2 separate regions of the Homo sapiens genome follow, and region 1 is linked to region 2. Evidence: promoter capture Hi-C in 16 types of primary human blood cells and fetal thymus (Javierre and others, 2016). All regions are on one chromosome and are shown on one strand. Each heading gives the region's core, a stretch centred on a gene start or on the middle of the fragment in contact. The rest is flanking DNA. Distances are from core to core; before and after follow the strand shown.

Evidence for each region. The method cuts DNA at HindIII sites, captures the fragments that hold promoters and counts their contacts. A CHiCAGO score of 5 or more calls a contact.
Region 1: a contact is called between the fragment with the promoter of RC3H1 here and the fragment with the promoter of VAMP4 in region 2, in 1 of 17 cell types (non-activated CD4 T cells). The highest score is 6.4, in non-activated CD4 T cells.

Annotation. Positions count from the first base shown.
Region 1 is chr1:174,019,102-174,024,835 of GRCh38, forward strand. It overlaps RC3H1 (ring finger and CCCH-type domains 1), which reads right to left and starts at 3,256. Exons shown (of 20, transcript NM_172071.4): 1 at 2,995-3,256. It overlaps RC3H1-DT (RC3H1 divergent transcript), which reads left to right and starts at 3,382. Exons shown (of 2, transcript NR_187284.1): 1 at 3,382-3,539; 2 at 3,682-4,089. RefSeq lists enhancers at 1,882-2,001, 2,066-2,605 and silencers at 2,812-3,131, 3,242-3,491. The HindIII fragment of the contact is 5,810 bases long and covers 430-5,734 here.
Region 2 is chr1:171,738,203-171,744,351 of GRCh38, forward strand. It overlaps VAMP4 (vesicle associated membrane protein 4), which reads right to left and starts at 3,863. Exons shown (of 8, transcript NM_003762.5): 1 at 3,708-3,863; 2 at 147-261. The coding sequence starts at 212. The HindIII fragment of the contact is 4,907 bases long and covers 126-5,032 here.

The DNA.
Region 1 (5,734 bases), core at 2,006-4,505, 2.3 Mb after region 2:
AACAAATTAACCATGAAAACAATTACAGCAGTATGATAAATCTGTCCTATGTAAACAGTATGAGTTTTTATATTTTATAGCATTCAGATATGCTAAAAACAAAAATTTAAGTGTTTCTTTTGTGATTCACATGAACAAATACTTTCTTGGTCTTACAAGTAGATATCTGACAGGATACAAATAATGATAATAGGGTAAGTTCACAGGCAAAAAAAGGAATCTGTCAACACAGAAGATGCTTCAAAGTTTAACTGTGACACATGTGGTAGTGGCAAAGAATCTAATTTGTGTCACAAGATCTGAGTCTGAGTAAGCTCTTTTACCTATTAATTATGTGATCTTTTTGCTGGTTACATAGCTACTCTTAGCTTCACATTCTTCATATGAAAAAATGAGGACAACAGAACTAATACTGCAGCATAATGAGGAAGCTTAAATATTTTTATTCATTCAACAAATATGTTCTGAAAGGCGTTGTGTACAAATTACCCTTTTTTATTTCTTCAAATAAATCAAGCATATATTAACTTTTAATATTACCAAGAAAATATAAATCTAATTCTTAAGCTCTGGTTCCAAAACTTCTTAGAAGTAAATTTTTATTACCTGAGAAAATGTGAACTTAAGTAATAAGTATTGATACTGAAGAAGGGACAGTTGAGTTTGTGTCAAAACTTAAAACTGTTTTGACACAAAATAAATAAAAACAATTCCCTAAATTTTTTTCCTATTGAACAGAAATACGGACCCAGACTAAGCCCATAAATTGCTGGGTCAATAACCAATCTGAAATACAAAACCTTACCACTTAAAAATATTTATTTTCAGGAAAATGATATTAAATATGAGGTAAATCTGCCCTTGACATAACACGGTGAGATTGTTTTCATAACACAGCACATGAACCACTTAAAACTTACAACCTATAAATTACTACAATTGTTCTAATAGGTTTAGGGCCATACATAAATTTAAGTATCATTATAACACAGACTTTACTTGGAATCTGTGCTGACCTAACAAAATTAGCACAGAAAAAAAAAAAAAATCACAGATTTGAGCACCTGAAAAACGGTGTCCTTTCTGAAATATCTGCAAAAAAGTCACAACATCAGGAGCCATAGAAAGTTGTTATTTCTCCATCATTCAAAAAATCAAAACATCTCCAACATTATTTATGCTAAGCATAAAATGAAGGTCAGTATTGATATTCATTCACTATACTTCAAATCCTAAACAAGAAAATTCAACCTTTATGTTTATTCAATTGCTAATCTATTCAGTGTCAATTGTTGTGGAAGAACTAAGAACTAGACTAGTGCTGCTTATAATGTTTTTAATTAGAACAGACTTGGACCAATTCTACTTAGAAATTTACCCTTAGAAGAGGTGAAAGATATTAACTGGCATCTTTTCAGCACAGGTCAGTGCTGAAAAGAACACAACCTATAACCCTTAGGCCTTGCAGTTGAATGTTAACAAGTGAAAAGCAATCTCCTTGGATGTATCCAAGCGATTTTAATATAAATTTCTGCATACCTAGGTAGAAAGTACTTTAGAAATAAATCTACCTTTTCCCTCACTTGTAAGAAAATGTGGTAGAAGCCTTGAAAAATTAAGTTTAAGGCTGAGCGAGGTGGCTCACGCCTGTAATCCAAGCACTTTGGGAGGCGGAGGAGGGCAGATGACTTGAGGTCAGGAGTTCCAGACCAGCCTGGCCAACATGGTGAAACCCCGTCTCTACTAAAAATACAAAAATCAGCCGGGCATGGTGGCGGGCGCCTGTAATCCCAGCTACTCCGGATGGTGAGGCAGGAGAATCGCTTGAATCCGGGAGGTGGAGGCTGTAGTGAGCCGAGATTGTGCCACTGCAATCCAGCCTGGGTGACAGAGCAAGACTCCGTCGCAAAACAAAACAAAAACGAAATCAAATTTCAAACTCAGAGAAAAGACTGGTCTTGAACAATTTCAGGAAAAATTACTGAAACACGAGACAAGGCACAAGAAGCTCTATGGCCGGAGATGAACCACCTGTCTCCTTTCGAAGTGCTTCCTGAGGTCCACTTTATGCTAGTTAATGTTGCTTCTTATACTGCATGTTAGTAATTCAAAACGCCTAGCTGGAATAAAAGTCCTCTTTAAACATTACAGTTTGTCTCCGCGTTGCCAGTGTTTGTTTCCAGTTTCATAGGCTATTCTGGTATGTCAAGAGTTGTGTTATTACTGTTCCAAAAGAGCCCTTGTTTCAATCCACTCTCACCTGGGATGCGGGCATAACTGATGTTTATAGAACTGATACTTAGAGATGTTTAGAGAGGCGCATCCCTTACCACTCCATCCTTTACCGATAACCACATTTTATATGTTTTTGTTGCATTTAAGTTTTTTGTTTTTTTTTTTTAAAGACACCTGCACACACACAATTTTCCCATCGCCAGCAGGGAGAAGACTACCAGGCTAGATCTCCAGGGACTTCAGGGAAACAGACACCGTGAAATCCACTTGGCCAAAGAAGGGGAGCGCTTCAGGGGCTGGGGGAGGAAGCAGCCCTGAGGTGCTGGGAGGCCGAGGCGGCGCCTGTTTACAGACGCCTTCGCCCTCCCCCACCCCCACAGACTAGGGGTCCAAAAAGCAGTTCCCGTGCGCATTCCCCGCCTGGCCCAGGCCCTGGGAGTACCACAGGAGCCAGGTAGCCCTTTCGCCCCCTCCCTCTCGTCCGAGCCTCCCTTCGTCCTCCTCTCGGCCTACCTACCCCGACAGGCCCTACAGGCGGCATGCAGAGGCCTGAGGCCTAAAGGACGCCGGCCACTGACAAGCCCCAGAACAGCCGGCGGGGGCCCTGAGGAGCCTGGGGCCGGCCGGGCTGCCGCTGCCGCGGAGGAGCAGAGGGCGGGCGAGGACAAACCCTTCCCGACCACAGCTGCCTATTGTTCCCGACTGAGGCCCCGGCCGCGGCAGCCCCGCTCCCCAAGTCGCCGCCCGCCGCTCGCTCACCGCGCTGGTCCGAGCAGCAGCTCCTCTCAGCTCCGAGTCCCCGCGGCCGTCGCCACCGCCGCGGCAGCCGCCGCCGCCGCCGAGGCCACCGTTGACTCTGATTCTGTCCCAGGCCGCCGGGCCACGGCTGCCGCCGCCACCGCCAGCACCGCCTCCGGCCTCCCACCTGCTGCTGCTGAGGCTGCTCCTGCAGCAGGGGCCATCTTGTTGCTCGGCCTCCTCTTCCTCCTCCTCGTCCTCCGCCGCCCAGTCGCTCGTTGTCCTCGTCCCCTTCCTCTTCCTCAGGCTCCGGCCCGCCCCGGAGACTGGGGCGGAGACGAGGGCGAGGATCCTCCCTCAGGAGGCGGGGCGGGCGGAGGGGAGGGGCGGGCGCGGGAGCAAAGCTCTGAGTCACCGGCCACCAACGCCCGGAGGGAGACCGGCGACGCTCTCCGCCGCGACCGAAAGTCTCACACGCCCTGAGCAGATGAACCGGTCCCTCGGTCCGGTCTGCCCTCCCGCACCGGCGCCTTTGGGCTCAGCGGGCCAGTGGCCAGATGGCGAGAGTAAATTGGGGGAATTTCTTTCGTTTCCATCGAACCCCACACTACGTCTACTCTTTCGGCTTTCTCAGCCGTTGTCCCCCAACTCTTGTTTCTTTTTCACGTCTTGTCCCCCACCCCATTTTTCTTCTTCCATATTATCCAGGTTCTGGATCTCATCAGCTTTGTCCTCGTCACCCCTCTGGGAGTTCAGCCTCCTAAGGCTGTGAAACAGCCCAAAAGGCCCGGACACGCTACTCCAAAACGTCTCTCCTGGGCTGTGTGAACAATAAGAGCTATTTGGGGACGACAGGAAAAGATATGGCCCATAGAAGGGCTCCTGAAATCTAACCTTGCGACTCTTTAAAAGTTTCTTGTCCCTTGTGGAAAAGGTGCCGTTTTGGTTTTGGGGAATGGGAGGTCCCTTCAGACAATTCATTTTAGCCAAACCCTCGCTTTTGAGAAGGGGAAGAAATGGGATTATTGTAACACCATACAGTACTAATTTCAAAATAAATCATCTAGAATAGAGGAGAGAGAGAGTCCCCAAATAAACAACCATTTAATACCTCTACTCGGCGCTATCACCTTTTTTGCTTCAGGATTTGACCAAGAGAGCAGAGATTATGTTTTTCTGTCCTTTCTTCACTGTTTACATCACAGTACCCCAAGAGAAGCACTTCTGCCTTTAACTTGATACATTGGAATCGCTATCACAGATAGTGTTTTTGTATTATTTTTAAGAAATATCACACACCTTCCTAAACTCTTGGCAGAGAAGAATTCTTTTTAGTTGTTAGCACCCTCCTGCTACTGAGATCTCAGCTTCTGTTTAGAAGACCTATTGTTGTCTTTCCACTGATTGGAATTTGCTGCCTCTGAACTGGGTTTAATCTGTAATCGTCTTTTCAGCCTACTAAATAGTAACCCCAGTCCTACAGAGAGTGAATTTCTAGCTACCACAGGGGGATTTAGGTTAGCATGTGCCAATCTAAAGGGATCTCTTAAAGCCTTTCCCTTCTCAGACCAGGCCTCTGTACCCTGCTAGGAAAAACAGATTAATCTGCTCCTCCTGCTTTTCCTCCTCCTCCCTTCTTCTCACTCCTAGGGAACCTTCCACAACAGAAGGTTTTAGCGACTGTTGCTAGGCAAACATGCCAACTTCCTTGTTTAGGTGAAGCGAGTAACTCAACTTCCATTGCAAGTAACCTAGATAATGTAATTTCTTTGAACTATTAATAGTTATACCACAGTTGGTAAGGCTCCTTAAAGGTTCCCTTAAGCAGTATGATTTTTACGTTGTTTATTTTTATCTCGTCAATATTTCAATTAAAAATACGTTAAAGGACAGATAGATGCAGTGGCTCACGCCTGTAATCCCAACATTTTAGGAGGCTGAGGGGGGCGGATCACCTGAGGTCCGGAGCCTGACCAACGTGGAGAAACCCCATCTCTACTAAAAATACAAAAATTAGCCAGGTGTGGTGGCGTGCACCTATAGTCCTAGCTACTCGGGAGGCTGAGGCAGGAGAATCACTTGAACCTGGGAGGTGGAGGTTGTAGTGAGCCGAGATCACGCCATTGCACTCCAGTCTGGGCAAAAAGAGCTAAACTCTGTCTCAAAAAAAAAAAAAAAAAAAAAAAAAAAGTTAAAAATGGCGGCGCTTCCCCAAACCCAAATTCATTTTAGTGATATAAAGATGCATTTGACAGAAAAAGAAGAGCAGCTTTGAAGAAAACACTTATGCTTACAATAAAAAATAAAAAACTAATCTGTGAGAAGTCATATGTTTTCAACTCCCCAGTCAGACTAGAAGTGTAAGATACAGGGGATAAGGCCGGGAGCGGTGGCTCACGCTTGTAATCCCAGCACTTTGGGAGGCCGAGGCAGGCAGATCACGAGGTCAGGAGATGCAGACTATTCTGGCCAACATGGTGAAACCCCGTCTCTACCAAAAATACAAAAAGCCCGGCGTGGTGGCGCGCGCCTATAGTCCCAGCTACTCAGGAGACAGAGGCAGGAGAATCACTTGAACCTGAGAGGCAGAGGCTGCAGTGAGCCAAGATTGTACCACTGCACTCCAGCCTGGATGACAGCAAGACTCGGTCTTGGCAGAGCATTGTGGCCCACGCCTGTAATCCCAGCACTTTGGGAGGCTGAGGAGGGTGGCTCTCCTAAGGTCAGGAGTTCAAGACCAGCTTGGCCAACATGGTGAAAC
Region 2 (6,149 bases), core at 2,613-5,112:
CTCAAGCTATTCTGCTTCAGCGTCCCAAGTGCGGCGATTGCAGGCATGAGCAACCACGCCCGGATGGTTTTTCTTCTATTATTCACAAAGGGAATGAAAACATATTTTGAATCTTTTGTTTTTAAAGCTTAAGATTCCGAACTTACCCTTTCACTTTTCACAGAACCTGTGACATCATCATCATTGAGGTGGCGCTTAAACTTGGGAGGCATATTTTTTACTTGCAAAGTATCTTTTGCTTCTCAACAGGATAGTCACCACCTTAAAGAGAAAATAAATTTCATCAGATTTGAGACTTTGGGGCATAAGCTAATGTACTTAAAACAGTGTACATGAAACCCTGTATGACAGGGACTCCCTCATTTTTCTGACTTCAATTCCTGCCCTCTCACTTGTTCCACTCCAGTGACTGGGGCCTCCATGCTAGACCTCAACACCTAAGAAATAGTTAAAATTATGAGAAAATGGATGTAATTGCCCTAAGAGAACATGTGTAGGATATGAGTGATTTAAGATTTTTATAAAATGAAAGAGCAGAGAGTAGAGGGAGGACGTCTCACTGAGACATTAAATGCTTTACAATTTAAAGTTGGAGTCAGAAGACAGGAGAACATGCCTATTTCTCTCACTTTTAGTTGGTTGCTTAAGCAATGATTCAGTTTCCTCAGGTGTAAAATACTGATTTTCAGGCTTCTGCAGAGTTGGGACGGTCAAATTGGATAATACATGCAAAAATATTCTGCAAACTATAATGTCCCATTGGTACTCCATGAAAAGGGGTAAGTTTGGTAAGTACTGGTGTGATATCGTGATTTACAAAATATACTCATTTGGTCTTAATCCCCATTTCCTGACATATCCTTGGAATCGCTGCAGTGATGTGTCTTGTGTATGCTAATAAGATGACTGGTAGCTTAGCCCCCAGATAGATTCCAGATGGAGGCTGGTCACAGAAAAACCTAGGCATGATTAGAAGACTGGGACTTTACAGCCCCACCCCCTAGCTTCCTGGAAGGGGAGGAGGGCTCAAGGTTGAACTGATTTCTAATAGCCAATGATGTAATCAATCATGCCTACTAAGGAAGACTCCATAAAACCCAAAAAGGACAGGGTTCAGAGAGCTTCCCAAAAGCTGAACAAGTAGAGAGTTCCTGGACGGTGGCACACCTGGAGAGGGCACAGAAGCTCTGTACCCCTTGCCCTATGCACCTCTTCCATCTGGCTGTTGATCTCTATCCTTTATAATAAACCAGTAAACAAAGTGTTTCTCTTAATTCTGTAAGCCACTCTAGCAAATAAACTGAACACAAGGAAGGGATTGTGGGAACTCTGATTTATAGCCAGTCAGTTGGAAACACAGGTAAAACAACCTGGAACTTGTGATTGGCACCTGAAGTGGGGGGAATCTTGTAGGATTAAGCCCTCAACCTGCAGGATCTGATGCTATCTCTAGGTATACAGTATCAGAATTGAATTAGAGGACACCCAGCTGGAGAATCTGCTGCAGAATTTCCTCCTTGCTTGTGAGGAGAAATCTTTTGGGGGTCTGTGTTGAGAGAGAATAGGAGAAACTCAATTTTTTTCTATCAAAACAACTGGATTAAACAAAGCTAGTTTTCTTTGCTACAGAATGACTCACATCCTGTTATATGCTAATATGCATTGTGACTTTCCAGGAAAATGCTTGTGTATGCAACATACTAAAATTTTTTTTTGCGAAAAAGTTCTTCTATGCAAATAATGAATTTTCAGTATTTTTGACTAGATGGTAGATGAATACCCATCAATTCAGGATAGCTCAGAAATACTGAATGTTTTACTATGTGCTAGGCACGGTGCTCAGTGATACACATGCATTTTCTTTTACTCTTTATGATGCTTCTTTAAAGTAGGCACCAAGAAACTAGGAGAAAACTAAAGTTTAGTAACGATAACGTTAGTCACTACATTCATTGAAACAGCAGAGATACAGGCCTAAATTAATCAATGGCTGTGCATTATCAGTTTTAATCATTTGTTCAATTAGTTGCCCATCAGGTTTACAGAATTCTGTTCTAGAAAGACTCACTTCCTGCTAACAACCCAATAGTCCTGCTTCCTTTTCCATAAGAAGAAACACTTAGACCTTTAAATTAGGTATAGTTAGACATCAGTTTGTTTGTTAATGATATACACTTAAAAAAGAATAATCCCAGGATCTGGCTTCACGAACCAAATAAAAGTAATGTTTTAAGTCAGCTGCTTGTCAAAACCAAAGGACACACTTTTCTTTGATAAGAAATGCTTCCAAATCAGAAATTATTCACTTGTAACAAAAACCAAATTCTTGCTGCCTGAGTAACAGCTCTTGAGTTCTTGGTTCCACAATATTTCTGTCACATACATCTGGCCCTTTTATTCCTCATACTTTGATGTCAGAATACTTCATTCATGCAGAAATGTAACAGAATGCATGGAAAAACAGATGACAAGGCAAATTACTGAAGAACTTGTGCTTTTAACTATTATCTGTATTTAGATTTTAACCCCTGCAATGAGGCTGCCTCAACATCCCAAAGCAAACAACGGGCAGACTTATATAATGCCTTTATAAGACATACAGTAAAACTACAATCTTAAGGATGAGCAAACACCATATTCAGGTCTCTTAATCCCAAGAAACCATGTGCAACAAATAGCCCATCAGCAAAGCAGTAGGCAGATTAATTAGCTACCTTGATGAACTTTGATGTTATTTGCAACTGATTATTAGTAACTGATATGTGTATCAAACAACTAGTAGAAATAAATCATGCTCAGAAAGTAGACTAGGATATAGTCTGCCTAAGATTTCTCCTACAAAAAAAGACATGTGAATTCAGCTGTTTGTGACTAGGTATACATGTAAATAAGAGAGCCATCATGTACTTCCACATTGAGGATAGACCACCACTATACAATTCACTCAAATGAGTCACATCACCGTATGCTTCTTATACATCAGCATATACTTAAATGTCTATGTGTGCGTTTTTGTAAGTAGTACGTTATCTAGTCAATAGCTTTGAATCTGGGCAAAGGCTCTCCTTTTCCCAGCCTCCATTCTCTTTCTGATTCGTCTTCCTTGTCTGTCATCAGCCTTCTTGCTTGATGCAGTTTCACAGAAATAAAGTGACTTGGATGGACACAGACCGGAGATATTATTTGCAAAACCTGTCAAGTGTAACGATTCACCCCCACCTTCCGGTCATTATAAACACAGCAGGGTTGGCGCTCTTTCCCCCGGGCCCTTTAAATACACAATTTCAGGCAGCTCCGTTCACCCCCCACACCCAATCTGTCACACCAGGCCACGTCCCACGATATATCTGCTCCTAACGCTGGCCCTTCCTGCCCCATTGTACCCCCTGGAATTCCTCACTACATCCCACTCTTAACAAACCTTCCCCATCCATGGTACTGTTCTCTTCCCATCACCCCAGAGTACCCCTCAATTCCAATTCTTCTCTCCCTCAACTGCTCCTCGTCCGCATACCCCTGTCCTCGTCTTCCTTCCTCACGGCACCCCCGGCCCCAACCTTTTCCCACTCCGGGGTCCCTTCCTAGATCCCCGAGGCCCGCCGACCAGCCCGACTAGGACGTCGGGGGGCGGCAAGGCAGGGGCGTCTTCTTCGTTTCCTTCCTCCTCACACCAGCCCCTCCCGCTGCGAACAGGCCAGCGCCAGTACCTGAGGCTCCCGGGGAACTCCCGGCAGCTCTCCCGGGCTGGCGGTGCTGGGCGGGCGGGGGAAGGAGTAGGAAGCCGAGGTAAGAAGCTGGGAGGGGGAGACAGTTGGTGCGGACCCGGCGTCGGCCGCAGCGCCGCAGCAGCGCCTCCGCTCATCGAGCCGATCGGCGCTCGGCGGCCTGGCGCCAGGCGGAGGGGGCGGGTCCAGGGCACGGAGATAATCGAGGAAGTCGATCCGCCGAGCCCTATTCACCTAAAAGAGCCCGAACCCACACGCAGTTTAGATGCATCTCTCCAAATTTATGCTGTGCTTTAGGGGAGGAACAACCACTGGTTGTCCACGTTCCGGTCGTGATCCGGCGTGCGTGGAGGGCGATTAGGGGAGGAGTGGGAAACTTCCGAGAACCGCTCGGGACTGGGCGCCGCGCCGGAGTGCGTGGCTGGGGTGATGAGGCGTTAGAAAGAAGGTGGTGCTTGGTGGCACATCCGTCCCTCTGGCTGACTACGTTGAGTGGCAAGTGGAGAGTGGCTCGCAGCTCGAGGACCTGCTTCGGGTTCGTCTGGGGCCTTTTCTGAAGAAAGGAGATCTGTTTGATCCCCTGTTTACAGAATTAGAGCTAGACTTGGAAAGAGATGTTAAGGCCAGGCTCCTCCCTTTAGATAGGAGGAATATCTGGTTCAGAGAGGAGATTGACTTAAAGTTAACACGGCTAGTTTAGATAGATACGGGACGAGGGCTCGGTGTTCTTTTCCCGGTATCCCTTAGTTGTAACCTGAAAGCCTTCAGGAAATCGCCCTCGCCAGGCCATTCCGCCACTCTGCCCATTCCTTCCTCACTCCCTCCCCCTCCGCCCAATTTGGTATCATGTTTAGATCTCCACGCCCGCAGTAGCTGTCTACCAGAAACAATTCCTAATTTTGTTTTTCCGTTCTCTTATTTGTTTTATTATCCGTTCCTCCCACGCCCCAGCTGGATTATTTTACTCATTGAATCATATTCACTACACATCTTTTAAAATTAATACAGTATCTATGGGTCCTTTGTTGATACAGTATTTTAACTGTCTGAAATACTGTGCCAGGCACTTTCTAAAGACATAAAAATAAGAGGGGGTGTTCAAGAACAAGAGTAGACAAGAAAACAGCAGGAGGAAAGATCTGCGGACACTAAAGGAAAGGAAAGAATAGACACCCTCTTACCAAAAAGTTGTTCTTCTTTTGTTTGATGTTTATTTTTATGTAAAAATGTACTAACGAATTTGAAAGATGCCATGACTAAGGCAACGATGCTCCACTCTGATTCACTTGGAGTTGAATCACTTGGAAAGCTTTTAAAACTACGTAGGTGCCCACGTGCTACCTAGATTCTGATTTAAATGTTCTGAGATTTAGAAACAGCCGTTGAGTTGTCAGTTGAAGGTTCTGAAAGCTTAATGCTAAACTCAGTTGCCTGTGTTTATTCAGTCCAAGTTGCTGTCCAAGTCAGCAACTTGGACTGAAACGGCCCACTTAGAAGAGAAGCCTCTCATGGTTTGTATCCCTGTCTAGGTGTGATAGTGGGTCTACCCCCAGACTCCACAGGTAACCCTGACATTATTTTTTCTTCTACAGCTGATCTTTTTTTTTTTTTTGAGATGAAGTCTCACTTCTTCCCCCAGGCTGGAGTGCAGTGACACAATCATAGCGCACAGCAGCTCTGAACTCCTGAGCTAAAGTGATCTTCCTGCCTCTGCCTCCCAAGTAGCTGGGATTACAGGCATGAGCAGCTGTGCCCAGCACTTACAGTTGATTTTATGTCTGTATATTTGCATGTTATGGGCTATTTTCTGGCTTTGGTGCCTTAGCCAATTAGAGTTTAGCTAGTTATAGCCTCATCTCTTAGACAACTTAAGGTGTGGTCAGTGAGCTCTAACAGGCACGTCATTGCATAGCTTTTACAGATAATCCATTCTTTGGGTTTTTTTGTTTTTTAAACATAATTCTTTAGTCCTGCCAGTCATTTTGGAATGATCGCTTAGGAGAGGGGTAATGCAAGCCCCACCCTTAATCACCTGAACAAAGTCCCTTTGACTAACCCCAATATTTGTGAAACTTAGAAAATGTCATTTTACAGTTAACATGAATCAAATATACCAGTAAGCCTAAAAGATTATAATAGCACTGAGCTTAGAGTCAGAACTCCAAGCAACTTGAGTTACTTATTTCCTCCATTTTCTTTTTAGTGAGCTTCAGTTATTCAGATGTTAGTCCTCTAATTTTCTTTTCCCCTTTTTCAACATGACACCTTCATCCTTAAGAGGGCCTGCTGTCCTCCTAGCTAGAGAATCAGCGTTTTGCTGTCTTTCAGGACTAAATCTCTGGGTTTTTGATGGGATAGCAAAGGGAATCTCAGCATCTGATTCATTCTTAAACAGACTTTATACCATTCCGCCTGTATTTATAG